2 separate regions of the Homo sapiens genome follow, and region 2 is linked to region 1. The links are contacts of gene promoters, found by promoter capture Hi-C in human tissues and cell types (Jung and others, 2019). All regions are on one chromosome and are shown on one strand. Each heading gives the region's core, a stretch centred on a gene start or on the middle of the fragment in contact. The rest is flanking DNA. Distances are from core to core; before and after follow the strand shown.

Evidence for each region. The method cuts DNA at HindIII sites, captures the fragments that hold promoters and counts their contacts. A contact is called where the count stands out against the background at its distance.
Region 2: a fragment that was not itself captured here is called in contact with the fragment with the promoter of ANPEP in region 1 in 1 of the 25 tissues and cell types used here (IMR-90 fibroblasts).

The regions. Positions count from the first base shown.
Region 1 is chr15:89,810,866-89,818,296 of GRCh38, forward strand. It overlaps ANPEP (alanyl aminopeptidase, membrane), which reads right to left and starts at 3,987. Exons shown (of 21, transcript NM_001150.3): 1 at 3,907-3,987. RefSeq lists an enhancer at 3,556-4,055, promoters at 3,923-5,077, 3,923-4,411 and cis regulatory regions at 4,026-4,031, 4,283-4,411, 4,319-4,322, 4,321-4,350, 4,368-4,370. The HindIII fragment of the contact is 19,993 bases long and covers 1-7,431 here.
Region 2 is chr15:90,143,884-90,151,314 of GRCh38, forward strand. No RefSeq gene overlaps it. Among named protein-coding and RNA genes, the nearest start is that of IDH2, 45 kb to the left of the region's middle. RefSeq lists enhancers at 1-192, 5,306-5,515. The HindIII fragment of the contact is 6,132 bases long and covers 1,870-7,431 here.

The DNA of each region.
Region 1 (7,431 bases), core at 2,737-5,236:
CCTGCTTTTCCCCGCTTCATTCTCCCTTCCTCCCTACACACAAGCTGATCCTTGGGCCTGGAAAGCTTCCTGCCTTTGCTTCATCCACTCCCCACTTGCCCTGGAGACACAAGTCAGTGGTGCTGCCCCCAGGCAGCCCTCCAAGTGCCTCCATGAGGGTAGCACCAGGTGTGCCGTATCCTCTACACCTGGCGTGCAGTGGGAGGGCAACACGTGCTTGTGGAATGGGGCATCAGTGCAAGAATGAGAGACAGCAGTTAAGGATGGAACTTCAGAGCCTTGATCCTCGGGACAGGTTCCACCCTCTCTACCCGACATTCCTTCCTGGGCTTCTGGGCTGTGCACAAACCACCTTCGTGATCCACCTTTGTGATTATTTACTTCGTATTTTTCTTTAAATCAATTCACTTTCTTAGCCTCCTTCTGAGCGATAAAATCATGGTTGGATGTGTTAATTTATATTAACAATTCATGACTATTGGTTTAAAAATTGTTCCTGGGCCGGGCGTGTTGGCTCATGCTTGTAATCCCTGCACTTCGGGAGGCTGAGGCGGACGGATCACGAGGTCAGCAGATCGAGACCATCCTGGCTAACACGGTGAAACCTCATCTCTACTAAAAATACAAAAAATTAGCCGGGCGTGGTGGTGGGCGCCTGTAATCCCAACTACTCGGGAGGCTGAGGCAGGAGAATGGCATGAACCCGGGAGGCGGAGGTTGCAGTGGGCCGAAATCGTGCCACTGCACTCCAGCCTGGGCGACAGAGTGAGACTCCATCTCAAGTAAAAAAAAAAAAAAAAAGAAAAAAAGAAAAAATTGTTCCTCTAGGTAGCTCCTAAAAGGATCCTGTCCAGTTGCACCCGCTTTGGGAACTGCTGCTCCACCCTGTATGATGTTGGGGTTGCTGGCCCTGCGGGTTGTCTTTGGTGCAGGCTCTTTCTGCCAGTGAGCAAAATGCATGTGTTCCTTTCGCTGTGAATTTCTTGACGGGGTAGAAGCCGAGCTCTCAACCCACTTCAACTAAAGCAGCCTTTCTATGGGTTTATGTATTTCTTCCCTGCCTATGTTTTAGTCCAGAAAACGTAAGTTCTTCTAAACTAAAACCAAAGCCAAAACCAAAAAACATGAAGGTTGACAACGATCATGCCAGGGCATAACTAAGTCACAGTCACAGTGTGGAAGACACCCACACTTGTGGGTGGGGAGAGGCTCCTTGGTCTCAGATGTGAAGTGCAAGAGGCTTTCTACTCTAATATGAAGACTCCAGGAGCCTGGGAGGGGCTGTGGCCGGGAGAGCTGAGCACCCGTGGCCGGGTGAGCTGCTGTGTTATCCATGCTCCATCCCCGACCACTGGGTCCTTGGGTAGGCCCCACCCACTCCCACTCAGTGTCCCTGACTGTGAACTATGAGACTGGGAGCTCAGGGACAACCTGGGGCTCATTGTCTGCTCTGAGGGAGCAGTGAGCGAGAAGGGTAGGGACGAGGCTGGGCCTGGGCCAGGGCACACTCTGTCCCCGCAGGCCCCTGGCTTTCTCCCAGGCTTCTGAGGCCTCCGCCCATAGCTGCATCACCCCAGGGTGCTTCCTCTGGGAGCCTTGGACATTGCCCCTCCTGCAAGAACCTCAGAAGGCCCCAATGGGAAGTTGCCTCTCATCAGCCTCTTCAGCCCAATGCAGGGCACACAGGAGGAAGGAGCAGAGGCATTTGTGGGTGGGGGAAGTACACATAGGGTTTGTGTGGGGCCACAGATCCTGCCTGGCAACTCCTGTCTGCCAAATGGGGGGTGATTATCCTGGTGAGACACATGGTAGGTGAAACTGAGCACCTACTATGTGCCCTACCAGGATAATCACCCCCATTTGGCAAATGAGGACACTGAGGCACAGAAAGGTTAAGTGATTTGCCCAAGGCCACACAGCTAGTTAGCAGCAGGTTCCACAGCTTAACTACATATGCCTCCTAAAAATGTCCTCCCATACAGCCCCTCACATCTACTGTGGCCGTGCCAAGGGGAGTTGAAGACCACAGGAGAAGACACGCACCCATTTGGCCAGACCAGGGCTGGGAGCTGGGGGTAGTTCTCAGAAGTAGAACTTGTTAGCCAGGGAGTGCTGGGGGCTGCTTCCAGACACAGGCCTGTGGAGGACCCACATCTTGCCTCCAAGGTGTGACTGGGACCACTGTAGGGCCAGGAGTGACAGGCACCCGGGGTGAAGCCCGGGCTAGGGATAGATGGCTGCCAGCCTATGTGAATAAGGACACCCCAGGGCCTCGGTGTGCGGCTGACACACTGTCCATGCCATGCCTCCAGGGCTGTCCAGGAGCCCCAGCATAGGGTTCCAGATCTCCCACCAGAGCCAGCCCAGGAACTGGACCCAGTTCCAACACCTTGGCTCCTTCCGACATGGGGACCCCCATCTATGTCCTCAGAATGCCTAGCATACAATTCTTACAGCGATGGGGCTGGAGGCCTTAGCTTAAAGGCTGTAGGGGTGTAAGGAGCGCCAGCGTGTAACGAAGGTCTCATTCCCCAGAAGGCTCTGGGGGAAGCACAGGGCAGGCGGCTGGGCTGCCTCAAGACACTGGGCCGGTTTCCCCACCTGTGAAGCGGGAGCAGCGCTGTGGGTGGCCTCCTTGCACTCATAGTGTGGCCTTCGAGGCTAGGGCTCCACAGGAAGGTGGCTGAGAGTGGATGAGGGCCTCATGGGCCCAGCACACCCTCCCACAGGGAGAGGGGAGTCCACCCTCTTCCCTGCCCAGCTCCCCCATACCCACTGGGGCTAGCCAGCCTTCCTGTGGGACAGAGGCTGTCCCCACTTCCTCCTGGTCACCCCTACCCCACACGCCCACCTCCCCTCCACAAAACACATACCCTGAGGGGCCCTCTGGTCCAAGCCTCCCCTTTCACAGGTGAATTAACTGAGGCCCAGTAAGGCCAGGGCGTTTAGAGACTCAGGGATGAAGCCACATCAGACCTCAGGTCTGGCTGAGACCAGGGCTCTGACCACCCCCGAACACGGCCTGGTGGGTTGCAGTCCAGGGGCTGAGGTGGGGGAGGAGTGGGGATCCAGTCACAAAACCCCAGGACATAGCCCACCTGGGCCGTCCCTGCCCACCGCACTGCTGGGGGGGGGGGGTGCGTTCTGGAGTCATTTGGGGAAAGGATCCCATTGGCCCTGTTTAGGGGACCTTTTCCCAGACCAAGAGTGGATTGCAATGGGGCCCTGGATCTGTCTCAGTTGCTCACCAGGGAGGGCGTGGAATAGGCTCCACAACCCCCAAACCTCGGTCCCCATCCATGCCCCGGCATCTTGGCCGGGTTGTAGGAGCGAGGGAGAACGCGACTGTAACGCGGGCGTTGAGCACCTAGAGTTCCCCTTCCTCTTCACTGAGAGCTGCGGCGGAGGCTTTAGACCGAGGAGCGAGATCTAAGGTTAAAGAAAGGGCCTCTGAGCCCAGTGTTGGCCAGAGACCCCACAGGCGGGCCGGGTTCGCCCTTTGCCTTCGGCCGCGCCCCACCCACCAGGGACAGAGTGGCCGCGGCCGAGCCGGGTCCACCCGCCGCAGCTTAGCTCCGCTCCGCCGCCCTCCCCGTCCGTCCTCCCCAGGCTCCCGTCGCCCTCGCCCACCCTGGGGCCCCCTCCCCAGATGGGAGCCCCTCCGACCCCTGCGAGGCCCGCTGGGGACCCACTTGACCGCGAGATCGTAGTGGGAGCTCGGCCAAAAGAATTCTTCGCTTTCCCTGGCCCTCAGTTTACCCATCTGGGAAGAGGGGCGTCGCGGCCGCAGAAGTCCAGCTCCGCACGCGCCAAGCGCTGGGTCTGCAGCTCCCTCGGTTCCCGCGCACCCAACTGCCCCACGACCCCTACCCGCGCCCGCAGCCCCCGCCCTCCCGCCCCACTTGCCTGGGCCGCCGGGCGCTGGAACCTGGACCCTGGACCCTGGCGGGTTCCGAGCTGCGCCGCCGCCGTCCCTGCCCCTCCAGCACTGGACTCCTCCTTTCCCGTCTTTTTAAAGGGAAGTAACCGGACCCGACCACTACTCCACCCGATTCACCCCTAGCGGGCCGCCCGCCCGCAGCTCCGCCCGGGCTCCTCCCCCGTCCGCCCGCGGCTTCCCGGGAGCCCCCCAGGGCTCCTCCGCTCCTCCGACGGCCCGGCCTTCCCCCCGGGGCCTGGGATGCACCAGGGCTCCTGCTGCCCCCGACGGGGTCCCTGTCGCCGCAGCCCGCGGGACCCGCCGGCCACATCTGGACGGCATCTGCCGCGGGGGAGGGGCTCAGAGCCTCGCCCTGAGTGTCCCGCAGGGAGCCTTGTGCATCCGGGGCAGGAAGCCAGCGCATCCCGTGCAGACGGGTGGTGCAGATAACGGACCCGCCACAGCACGCAATTCAACTTTCTTGGTACCTGGGACTCGTAGTTCAGAAGGCGCAGTAGCACGACCTTGCGAAAAAGCACCGGAGTCGGGAACACGCGCTTCTCATTTTTTTCTTTTTCCTTTATTTGTTTTTGAGACAGAGTCTCGCTCTGTCGCTCACGCTGGAGTGCAGTGGCACTTTCTCCGCTCACTGCAACTTCCTCCTCCTGGGTTCAAGCGATTCTCCTGCCTCAGCCTCCCGAGTAGCTGGGACTACAGGTGCACGCCACCACGCCTGGTTAATTTTTGGAGTTTTAGTAGAGACAGGGTTTCACCATGTAAGGCTCGTCTCGAACTCCTGACCTCAAGTGATCCGCCCGCCTTGGCCTCCCAAAGTGCTGAGATTACAGGAGTGAGCCACCACACCTGGCCTGCGCCTCTCATCTTGATCCTGCTTGCAGAGGTTGTGCAGCCACCGGAGCCCCGCCAGGGTGGGGCTCCCTGTCTCTGAGCAGCTTTAATGGGCGGTACCAGATAATATTTGTATTGGTTCCCTGTGGCTGCCGTAACACAAACATAAAACAACACTAATTTACTATCTTACAAGTTTTGTAAAATCAGAAGTCCAAAATGGGTCTCGCTGGACTAAAAGCAAGGGGGTTGAGGGATACAGCTTTCTTGAGGCTGGAAGGGAACCTGTTTCTTTGGCTTTTCTGGCTTCTAGAAGCTGCCCACATTCCTTGGCTGGTGGCCCCATCCATCTTCAAAGCCAGCAGTGGCCCACCAGTCTCTCACAATCTGTCACTCTGACACCAACTGTTCTGCCTCTTGCTTCCACTGGTGAGCATCTTTGTGATTACATCGGGCCTACCCAGATAATCCAGGGTAATCTTTCTATTTTAAATCAATGGATTGGCAACTTGAATTCCACCTGCAACTGTAATTTCCCTTCGTGGGGTAGCATAACATATTCACAGATTCTGGGCATTAGAACCAGGGCATCTTTTGAGGAGGAGGATATGATTATGTCTACCACAATATTCAAGCTGACTTCCAGACTTTCAGATTTATAATCAAATTTAAGCTCTTCCTTATCCATGATTGGAATCCTTGGGACAGTTAAAGCCTTGCACTGCATGGTCCAAATTGATGGCTTTGTGACTGGCTGTGTTTTATTATTTTACTTGCACTTGCTCTTCTTTTGGAAACTTCATGGAGGACCAGGGTACCTCTAGGTAGCAGCCTTGCTTCTCCTTCCTAATTTGCTCTGTACTCTTAAAAACCAGGTCACAAACATATCGGAATATAGAATTGTGTGTAAAGTAAGAGTAAGTAGGCTGTGAGTGAGACCTCAGAGGCTATTTTGTTTTTTTTCTCTCTCCAGTCTCATGCATGTCTGACTCTCTCCACTATCATATCTGGCATAATCTCCTCCATGTCTGACAAGCCAAGGAAAACACTACATCAGGCCAGGAGAGAATCTTCCCCCCGGAGCTCTGCCTCTCCCACCCAGGCTCCGCGGAGATTTTAAGAGGAGTAAAGATCCTGCTGTGGCAGAAGTGCAACCCAGCTTTCTGGAGGGCAGTTTGGGGTTAGGAATGAAGATCACTTTCAGAAATTTAGCCTGAAGAGGCTGGGCGTGGTGGCTCATGCCTGTAAGGCAGGTGGATCACTTGAGGTCGGGAATTCAAGGCCAGCCTGGGCAACCTGGTGAAACTGTGTCTGTACTAAAACACAAAAATCAGCCAGGTGTGGTGGCGCATGCCTGTGGTCCCACCTACTTGGGAGGCTGAGGCACGAGAATCGCTTGAACCTGGGAGGCAGAGGCTTCAGTGAGCTGAGATCACATGACTGCACTCCAGCCTCGACTACAGAGCAAGACTGTCTCAAAAAAATAAATAAATTTAGCCTAAGGAAATAGAATATTTATATGCAAGGCTTTTCACTGCAGTATTACTTATAATACTGGAAAATCAGAAATAGCCTAAGTGGGCTGGGCGTGGTGGCTCATGCTTGTAATCCCAGCACTTTGGGAGGCCAAGGCAGGCAGATTACGAGGTCAGGAGTTCGAGACCAGCCTGGCCAATGCAGTGAAACCCTGTCTCTACTAAAAATACAAAAATTGGGTGGGCATGGTGGTGGGTGCCTGTAATCCCAGCTACTGGGGAGGTTGAGGCAGGAGAATCGCTTGAACCCGGGAGGTGGAGGTTGCAGTGAGCCGAGATTGCGCCACTACACTCCAGCCTGGGTAACAGAGAGAGACTCTGTCCACCCCCTGTGAAAAAAAAGATGAAGAGACAGTGCTTGCTCCTGCAGAAAGAAAATTCATGGGCTCATAAACATGTAAAAAGATGTTCAATAACTCACTTATTAAGAAAATGAAAATTATAACTACAAAAGATACTATTCTTCACTTACCAGATCAGCAAAGATAAAAAGCAGTTTGGTAGGTCAGGCACAGTGGCTCATGTCTGTAATTCCAGCACTTTGGGAGGCTGAGGCAGGAGAATCACTTAAAACCAGGTGTTCGAGACCAGCCTGGGCCACGTGGCAAAACCCTGTCTCTACCAAAAAAAAAAAATTAGCCAGGCGTGGTGGCACGTGCCTGTAGTCCCAGCTACTTGGAAGAATGAGGTGGGAGGATTGCTTGAGCCTGAAAAGTCAAGGCTGCAGTGAGCCATGATCGTGTCACTGCACTCCAGCCAGAGCGATAGAGTGAGTCCCTGTCTCAAAAAAAAAAAAAAAAGTTTGGTAACACACTATTCGCAAGGGTGGGAGGAAAACAGGCAACCCCCTGCATTGCTGGTTGGTGTGTAGACTGACTCGACCTCAAAAGAGAATATTTGGGCAGTATTTATCAAACATATAAACACATGTCCTGTTTGACTTGGCACTTCCAGAAATTTATCCTACAGATAATGCTCACACGTAAGTGAAAGGAATACACAAGGCTTTCCACTGCATCGCTGCAACATTGAGCCAAAACCACAATGACTTTTGCACCAATCTAATAGCTGGAGACAACCTAAATGTCCACCAATAGAGATGGGATAAATGAATGATTATTGTATGCC
Region 2 (7,431 bases), core at 3,686-6,185, 330 kb after region 1:
TGATCTCAGCTCACTGTAACCTCTGCCTCCCAGGTTCAAGCGATTCTCCTGTCTCAGCCTCCCGAGTAGCTGGGACTACAGACACCCGCCACCACACCCGGCTAATTTTTGTATTTCTGGTAGAGATGGGGTTTCACCATGTTGATCAGGCTGGTCTTGAACTTTTGACCTCGTGATCCACCCACCTTGGCCTCCCAAAGTGCTGGGATTACAGGCGTGAGCCACAACGCCCGGCTTTTTCGTATTTTTAATGGAGATGCGGTTTCACCATGTTGGCCAGGCTGGTCTCAAACTCCTGACCTCAGGTGACCCACCCGCCTCAGCCTCCCAAAGTGAAAGTGCTGGGATTACAGGTGTGAGCCACCGTGCCCGGCCTTTCTATGCTTTCTTGTCACATGAGCTACAGCTTTTACTGAAGGCTTGGGCAATAGAGGGGTGTACTGGGGTGTACTTAGTAGGAAAACAAACCATTTCAAAAAGAATAGTACAGATCCTGTTCTTAAAAGTCCTTTGAGGTCTGGCATGGTGGCTCATGCCTGTAATCCCAACACTTTGGGAGGCCAAGACAGGCAGATCACAAGGACAAGAGTTCGAGACCAGCCTGGCCAACATGGTGAAACCCCGTCTTTACTAAAAATTAAAGAATTAGCCGGGGGTGGTGGCATGCGCCCGTAGTCCCAGCTACTCAGGAGGCTGAGGCAGGAGAATTGCTTGAACCTGGGAGGCAGAAGCTGTAGTGAGCTGAGATCGCACCACTGTACTCCAGCCTGGGCCACAGAGCAAGACTCCATCACCAAAAAAAAAAAAAGAAAAGAAAAAAAAAAAGTCCTTCGAGGCTGGGTGCAGTGGCTCACTCCTGTGATCCCAACACTTTGGGAGGCTGAGGCGGGCGGATCACCTGAGGTTGGGAGTTCAAGACCAACATGACCAACATCGAGAAACTCCATCTTACTAAAAATACAAAATTAGCTGGGTGTGGCAGCACATGCCCGTAATCCGAGCTACTCGGGAGGCTGAGGTAGGAGAATCACTTGAACCCAGAGGCGGAGGTTGCAGTGAGCTGAGATCACGCCATTGCACTCCAGCCTGGGCAACAAGAGTCTCAAAAAAAAAAAAAAAGCCCTTTGGTCTCCCCGCCACTGTGAAATTCTCAGTGGACACATACCTCCCAGGCTCTGCCCTTGCCATTTTGTTTTCTCCCTCCCTCCTCCCTCCTTCACCCTTCATTTCTATGACCATCTTTCCATTTCTTCTTCTCTTTTGGGGTCCCTCGCCCCCAAGTTCCGGTTAACGTTCTCTGTAAAGCCGTTTGATTCCTCCTGTGTTTAAACATCTTCCTTCAACTATGTCCTTAGCACCTCCCCTTCCTCAACAAAAGTGGCTATCAAGATATTTTCCTAAACAAAAACCGGTCTCACCCTGCTAAATGCATTGGAAACTTACCACCTGGTGTATATATTGGCCTCCTGAGCAATTGATTAGTCTGAGTCCACAGCTGGGACCTGGCTCTCCTCTCCACCAGCTGCCAGGCGGAGGGCAGACCCAGGGCCCCAGGGGTGAATTTGTCAGGGCAAAGGCCTCTGTGGGCAGCCTCTTGGCAGCCTGCCAGTAGCCCCTTCTGGCAGCGTCCCACCTCTCCCGGCATCACAGATCAAGCCTCAGAAGAGCAGGGCCTAAGGAGAAAACCCGAGAGTGACGATGGCAAAGAGTGATCACAACACCCCAGGTGGGTGGACTCCGGGGGAACGCAGAGGTACTCGGGCCCAGAGCTGGTGGGAGAGGGGAGGTGATGGGAAACTGGACACCCAGAAAGTCCCACCAGCATGGAAATCCACTGGGGGGCTCAGCACCCCTGGAGAGGCACTGGGAGTTGGGAGGATCAAAGGAAAGACAGGGCTCTCACTGCCGGTGAATAGGACAAGCTGGGAAGGAAACAGACAATGCTTTCCAGGTTGGATTGCCAAGGCAGAGAGGCAAGAGAGGGGATGGAGAGAAGTCTTCAAAACTGCCATTCAAGGCCAGGCACAGTGGCTCTCCACCTGTAATCCCAACACTTTGGGAAGTTGAGGCAGGAGGATCGCTTGAGCCTAGGAGTTTGCGACCAGCCTGGGCAACATAGCAAGACCCCGTCTCTAAAAAAGTAGAAAACTTAGCAGGACATGGTGGTGTATGCCTATAGTCAGAGCTATTCAGAAGGCTGAGGTGAGAGGACTGTGTGAGCCCAGAACATCTAGGCTGCAGTGAGCTGACATCACACCACTACACTCATTCAGCCTGGACGACAAAGTGAGACCCTGTCACAAAAAAAGAAAAAAAAAAAAAACAGGCCAGGCATGGTTGCTCATGCTCATAATCCTAGCACTTTGGGAGTTTAAGGCAGGCAGATTGCCTGAGTTCAGTAGTTTGAGACCAGCCTGGCCAACATGGTGAAACCCGGTCTCTACTAAAAATACAAAAATTAGCCAGGCATGGTGGGGAGCACCTGTAATCCCAGCTACTCAGGAGGCTGAGGCATGAGAATCACTTGAACCTGGGAGGCGGAGGTTGCAGTGAGCTGAGATCGCACCACCGCACTCCAGCCTGGGTGAAAGAACTAGACTCCATTTCAAAACAAAACAAAAACCAAAAAACTGCTCTTCAATAAGCCCTTACCACGTGTCAGGCACTGAACACTGACAGCAGCTAACAATTACACTGACTTACTCCACACCAGGCTTGTTCTAAGCAGCTGCTGTCCAATAAACACATAATGCAAGCCACATAGGTAGTTTTGTTGTTGTTGTTAATGTTTGTTTTTGGGTTTTTTTTGAGATGGAGTTTCACTCTTGTTGCCCAGGCTGGAGTGCAATAGTGTGATCTTGGCTCACCGCAACCTCCGCCTCCCGGGTTCAAGTGACTCTCCTGCCTCAGCCTCCCGAGTAGCTGGGATTACAGGCATGTGCCACCATGCCCGGCTAATTTTGTATTTTTAGTGGAGATGGGGTTTCTCCATGTTGGTCAGGCTGGTCTCAAACTCCAGACCTCAGGTGATCCGCCCGCCTCGGCCTCCCAAAGTGCTAGGATTACAGGCGTGAGCCACTGCGCCTGGCCTAGTAGTTGTTTTTTAATTTATTAATTTACTTTTCACCATGGCAGAAAAGAGCGTAGTTTTAAAAACTCTAGTAGCTGCATTTTTAAAAGTAAAAACAAAAAACCCACTGGTGAAATTAATTGTAATAATATATTCTATTTAGACTGAGTGTGGTGGCTCACTCCTGTCCTCCCAGCAGTTTGGGAGGCTGAGGCAGGCAGATCACTTGAGGTCAGAAGTTCAAGACCAGCCTGGCCAATATGGGGAAAGCCCGTCTCTACCAAAAATACAAAAATTAGCCAGGCGTGATGGCATACGCCTGTAATCCCAGCTACTCAGGAGGCTGAGGCAGAAGAACCGGTTGAAGCCTGGAGGTGGAGGTTGCAGTGAGCCGAGATGGTGCCACTACACTCCAGCCTGGAGGTGGAGGTTGCAGTGAGCCGAGATGGTGCCACTACACTCCAGCCTGGGCAACAGAGTGAGACTCCATCTCAAAAACAAACAAACAAATAATATATTCTATGTATTACAATATATTCTATGTAACCCAATATAATCAATAATTAGGGAGTTATTTTACTTTTTTTTGAGACAGGGTCTCACTCTGTTGCCTAGACTGGAGTGTGGCACGATCACAACTCACTACATCCTTGACCTCCCCTAGGCTCAGGTGATCCTTCCACCTCAGCCTCCCGAGTAGTTGGGACTATAGGCGCGTACCACCAGGCCCTGATAATGTTTTGTATTTTTTGTAAAGATGGGGTTTCACGATGTTGCCCAGGCTGGTCTCAAACTCCTGGACTCAAACAATCCACCCACCTCAGCCTCCCAAAGTGCTGGGATTACAGGTATGAGCTATTGCACCTGGCCTTTTTTGTATGAAGTCTTCAAAATCCGATGTGAATTTATGCATACATCACATTTCAGGGTTTTTTTGTTTGTTTTGTTTTTTTGAGACAGGGTCTCACTCTGTCACCCTGGCTGGAGTGCAGTGGCACAATCATGGCTCACTGCAGCTTTGACCTTCTAAACTCAAGCAGTCCTCCTTCCTCAGCCTCCCGAGTAGCTGAGACTACAGGCACATGCCACCACACCAGGCTAATTTTTAAATTTTTTTTTTTTTTTTTGTAGAGACAGGGTCTCACCATGTTGTCCAGGCTGGTCACAAACTCCTGGGCTCAAGCGATCCTCCCGCCTCAGCTTCTCAAACTGTTGGGATTACAGGTGTGAGCCACTGTGCCTGGCCTCCCGACTCAGCCTCCCAAAGTGTTGGGATTACAGGCGCGAGCACCACGCAGGGTACATCTCAGTTTAGACAAACCACGTTTTCTTTTTGTTTTACTTTTTCTTTTTTTTTTTTGAGATGGAGTCTCGCATTGTTACGATCTCAGCTCACTGCAACCTCCGCCTCCCAGGTTCAAGCAATTCTCCTTGCCTCAGCCTCCCAAGTAGCTGGGATAGACAAGCCACATTTCAAGTGCTCAGTAGGTACTGTGGCTGATGGCTACACTATTAGATGCAGCTGTCTAAGTGCTTTAGCTGTGTTAGTCCTCACAACTGTGCTTTTGTTATCCTCATTTTACAGATGAGAAAATTTACACAGAAAGTGCTTCAGCACTTTGCCCATTGCTACCCAGAAAGAAAAGGGCTGAGCTGGAATCTGAGCCACCAAGGTCAGCCAACTGAGGGTCCACAGTCTGGTGTCCTAACAACTGTGCTATGCTGTCAGCTTCACAAATCTCATCTCCCATAGGAGGTCATCAAAAAGCTGCTTGCAGCTGGGTGCAGTGGCTCACACCTGTAATCCCGGCACTTTGGGAGGCCGAGGCAGGCAGACCACTTGAGGTCAGGAGTTCAAGACCAGCCTGGCCAACATGGTGAAACCCCATCTCTACTAAAAATACAAAAATTAGCCAGGTGTGGTGGTGCGTGCCTGTAGTCTCAGCTACTTGGGAGGCTGAAGCAGGAGAATCTGCTTGAACCCTGGAGGCGGAGGTTGCAGCAAGCCAAGATTGCGCCACTGCACTCCAGCCTGGGTGACAGAGCAAGACTCTATCTCAAAAAGAAAGAAAGAAAGAAAGAGAGAGAGAGGAAGGAAGGAAGGAAGGAGGGAAGAAAGAAAGAAAGAAAACAATAATCCAATATATAGGCAAGAGCCCTTACTTCTCTACTACTTACAGTCTAGTGTTCAGAGAATGTAGGAGTGAGCCCAGAGAGCTTCCCAAGCCTACCATGTCGTCACTGCCTACAAGAGTCCCTGAAGATGGCCACACAAAACCCTGGGGCTTACTCATACATGTTCACAGTTTCATTTTCTTATCATATTGGTCAGTTTCATCTACACTGGAACGTGGTTCCACCTATCTTTCTGTTCTCTGATAAGCTTCAGCTCAAGGGGAAACATTTCTGGGGCCACAGGTTCTGTTGCCTGCCTCTGCAAAGAGCACATTACGCAAAGCAGATGTTCTGTGCCCAATTCAGTCTCTGCTATCAGAAAAGCTGTGTTCAGAGCCACATGGAGCCTGCAGCCTCCTGCTTTGCGGGAATGTTTGTGTAAAGGTTCCTGGCTTTCTCTTTGTTTACATCTGACTGTTTACCTTTCAGTCCCATCTCGTCTTCTGCTCAGTGAACAGTTTTTGCACTGGCAGGAGCCAGGTCGAACAGTTCCATAAACTGCTTTTTTATGGTTCTCAGTAGAGCAGAGGTTTGAAATTAGAGAACCTGAATGTTGGCTCAAGGAGGACACAAACTCCCTGAATTAGTGTCCAAATCTATGTGTGTGTGTGTGTGTGTGTGTGTGTGTTTGTGTCTTTCTAGGGGGTGGTTCCTTATTCTCATTGGATTTCCAAAGGGGTCTGGAACCCACAACAGGGTCAGAACACCTGGGTATATGGTGGGCCCCAAGGGGCCACCAAATGGAACGTTCTGCCGTCTGCTCTTTGGAATATTCTTCTGGCCAAGAGCCACCACTTCCCTGACTCCGGCCTTTCTCTTCCCCACTGTCACCAACAGGGGATATAGGCTTTCTATTGGGCACCACTCCTCACTGAGAACTGCTCTCAGGGCTTTCTGAGCCTGTTGGTGTGACTGCGGTGGTGGCAGCTTGCAGGAGAGACACCTCACTCTTTGCTTTGTGGGATCCTCTGCTTGGTCCCTGACTCACAGACTGAAGCTCAAATTCTAGCCACGCACCAAAAAGTGACCGACAGCCGGGCGCGGTGGCTCGTGCCTATAATCCCAGCACTTTGGGAGGCCGAGGCGGGCGTTTCACCATGTTGGCCAGGCTGGTCCCAAACTCCTGACCATTGCATTTGTTTGCAATGTAATTTGCAAACAAATTTGGTAGGCTGCCATAACAAAAGTTCCACAGACTGGGTGGCTTAAACCGTAGACATTTAGCTTCTTACAATTCTAGAGTCCAGAAGTTCACAATCAAGGTGTCTGCAGAGCTGATTTATTCTGAGGTGTCTCTCTTTGGCTTGCAGATGGCCATTTTCTCCTTGTGTCCTCACATTTTTCCCTCTTGCATGTCTGTGTCCTAATCTTCTCTTCCCTTTTATTTTTTTGAGGCAGAGTTTTGCTCTTGTTGCCCAGGCTGGAGTGTAATGGCGTGATCTCGGCGCACTGCAACCTCTGCCTCCCGGGTTCAAGCGATTCTCCTCCCTTAGTCTCCCAAGTAGCTGGGATTACAGGCATGCACCACTACACCCGGCTAATTTTGAATTTTTAATAGAGACGGGGTTTCACCAGGTGGTCAGTCTGGTCTCAACTCCTGATCTCAAGTGATCCGCCCGCCTCAGCCTCCCAAAGTCCTGGGATTACAGGCATGAGCCACCGTGCCTGGCCCTGCCTAATCTTCTCTTCTTATAAGGACAGCCATCCTACTGGATTAGGGCCCACCCTAAGGACCTCATTTTAACTTAATTACCTCTTTAAAGACTTTACCTACAAATACATATGAAGCTAGAACTTCTTGGTGAACATAATTCAGTCCATACCACTATCTTACACTTCTGTGATTACAAAAGCAACATATGCTCCCTGTAGAAAATATGGGAACATCAGAAATGGAAAAACTAAGACAAGAATCTCTGCAAAAATCTTGTTTTTTTGTTTTTATTTATATTTATTTATTTTGATTATTTTTGTTTTGAGACAAGACCTACTCTGCCACCCAGACTGGAGTGCAGTGGCACAGTCACAGCTCATGGAAGCCTTAAGCTCCTGGGCTCAGACAATTCTTTGGCCTCAGCCTCCAAGTACCTGGACTACAGGTGTGCACCACCATGCACCATGCCTAGCTAATTTTTAAAATTTTTTTGTAGAGACAGAGTCTCACTATGTTTCCCAGGCTGGTCTTG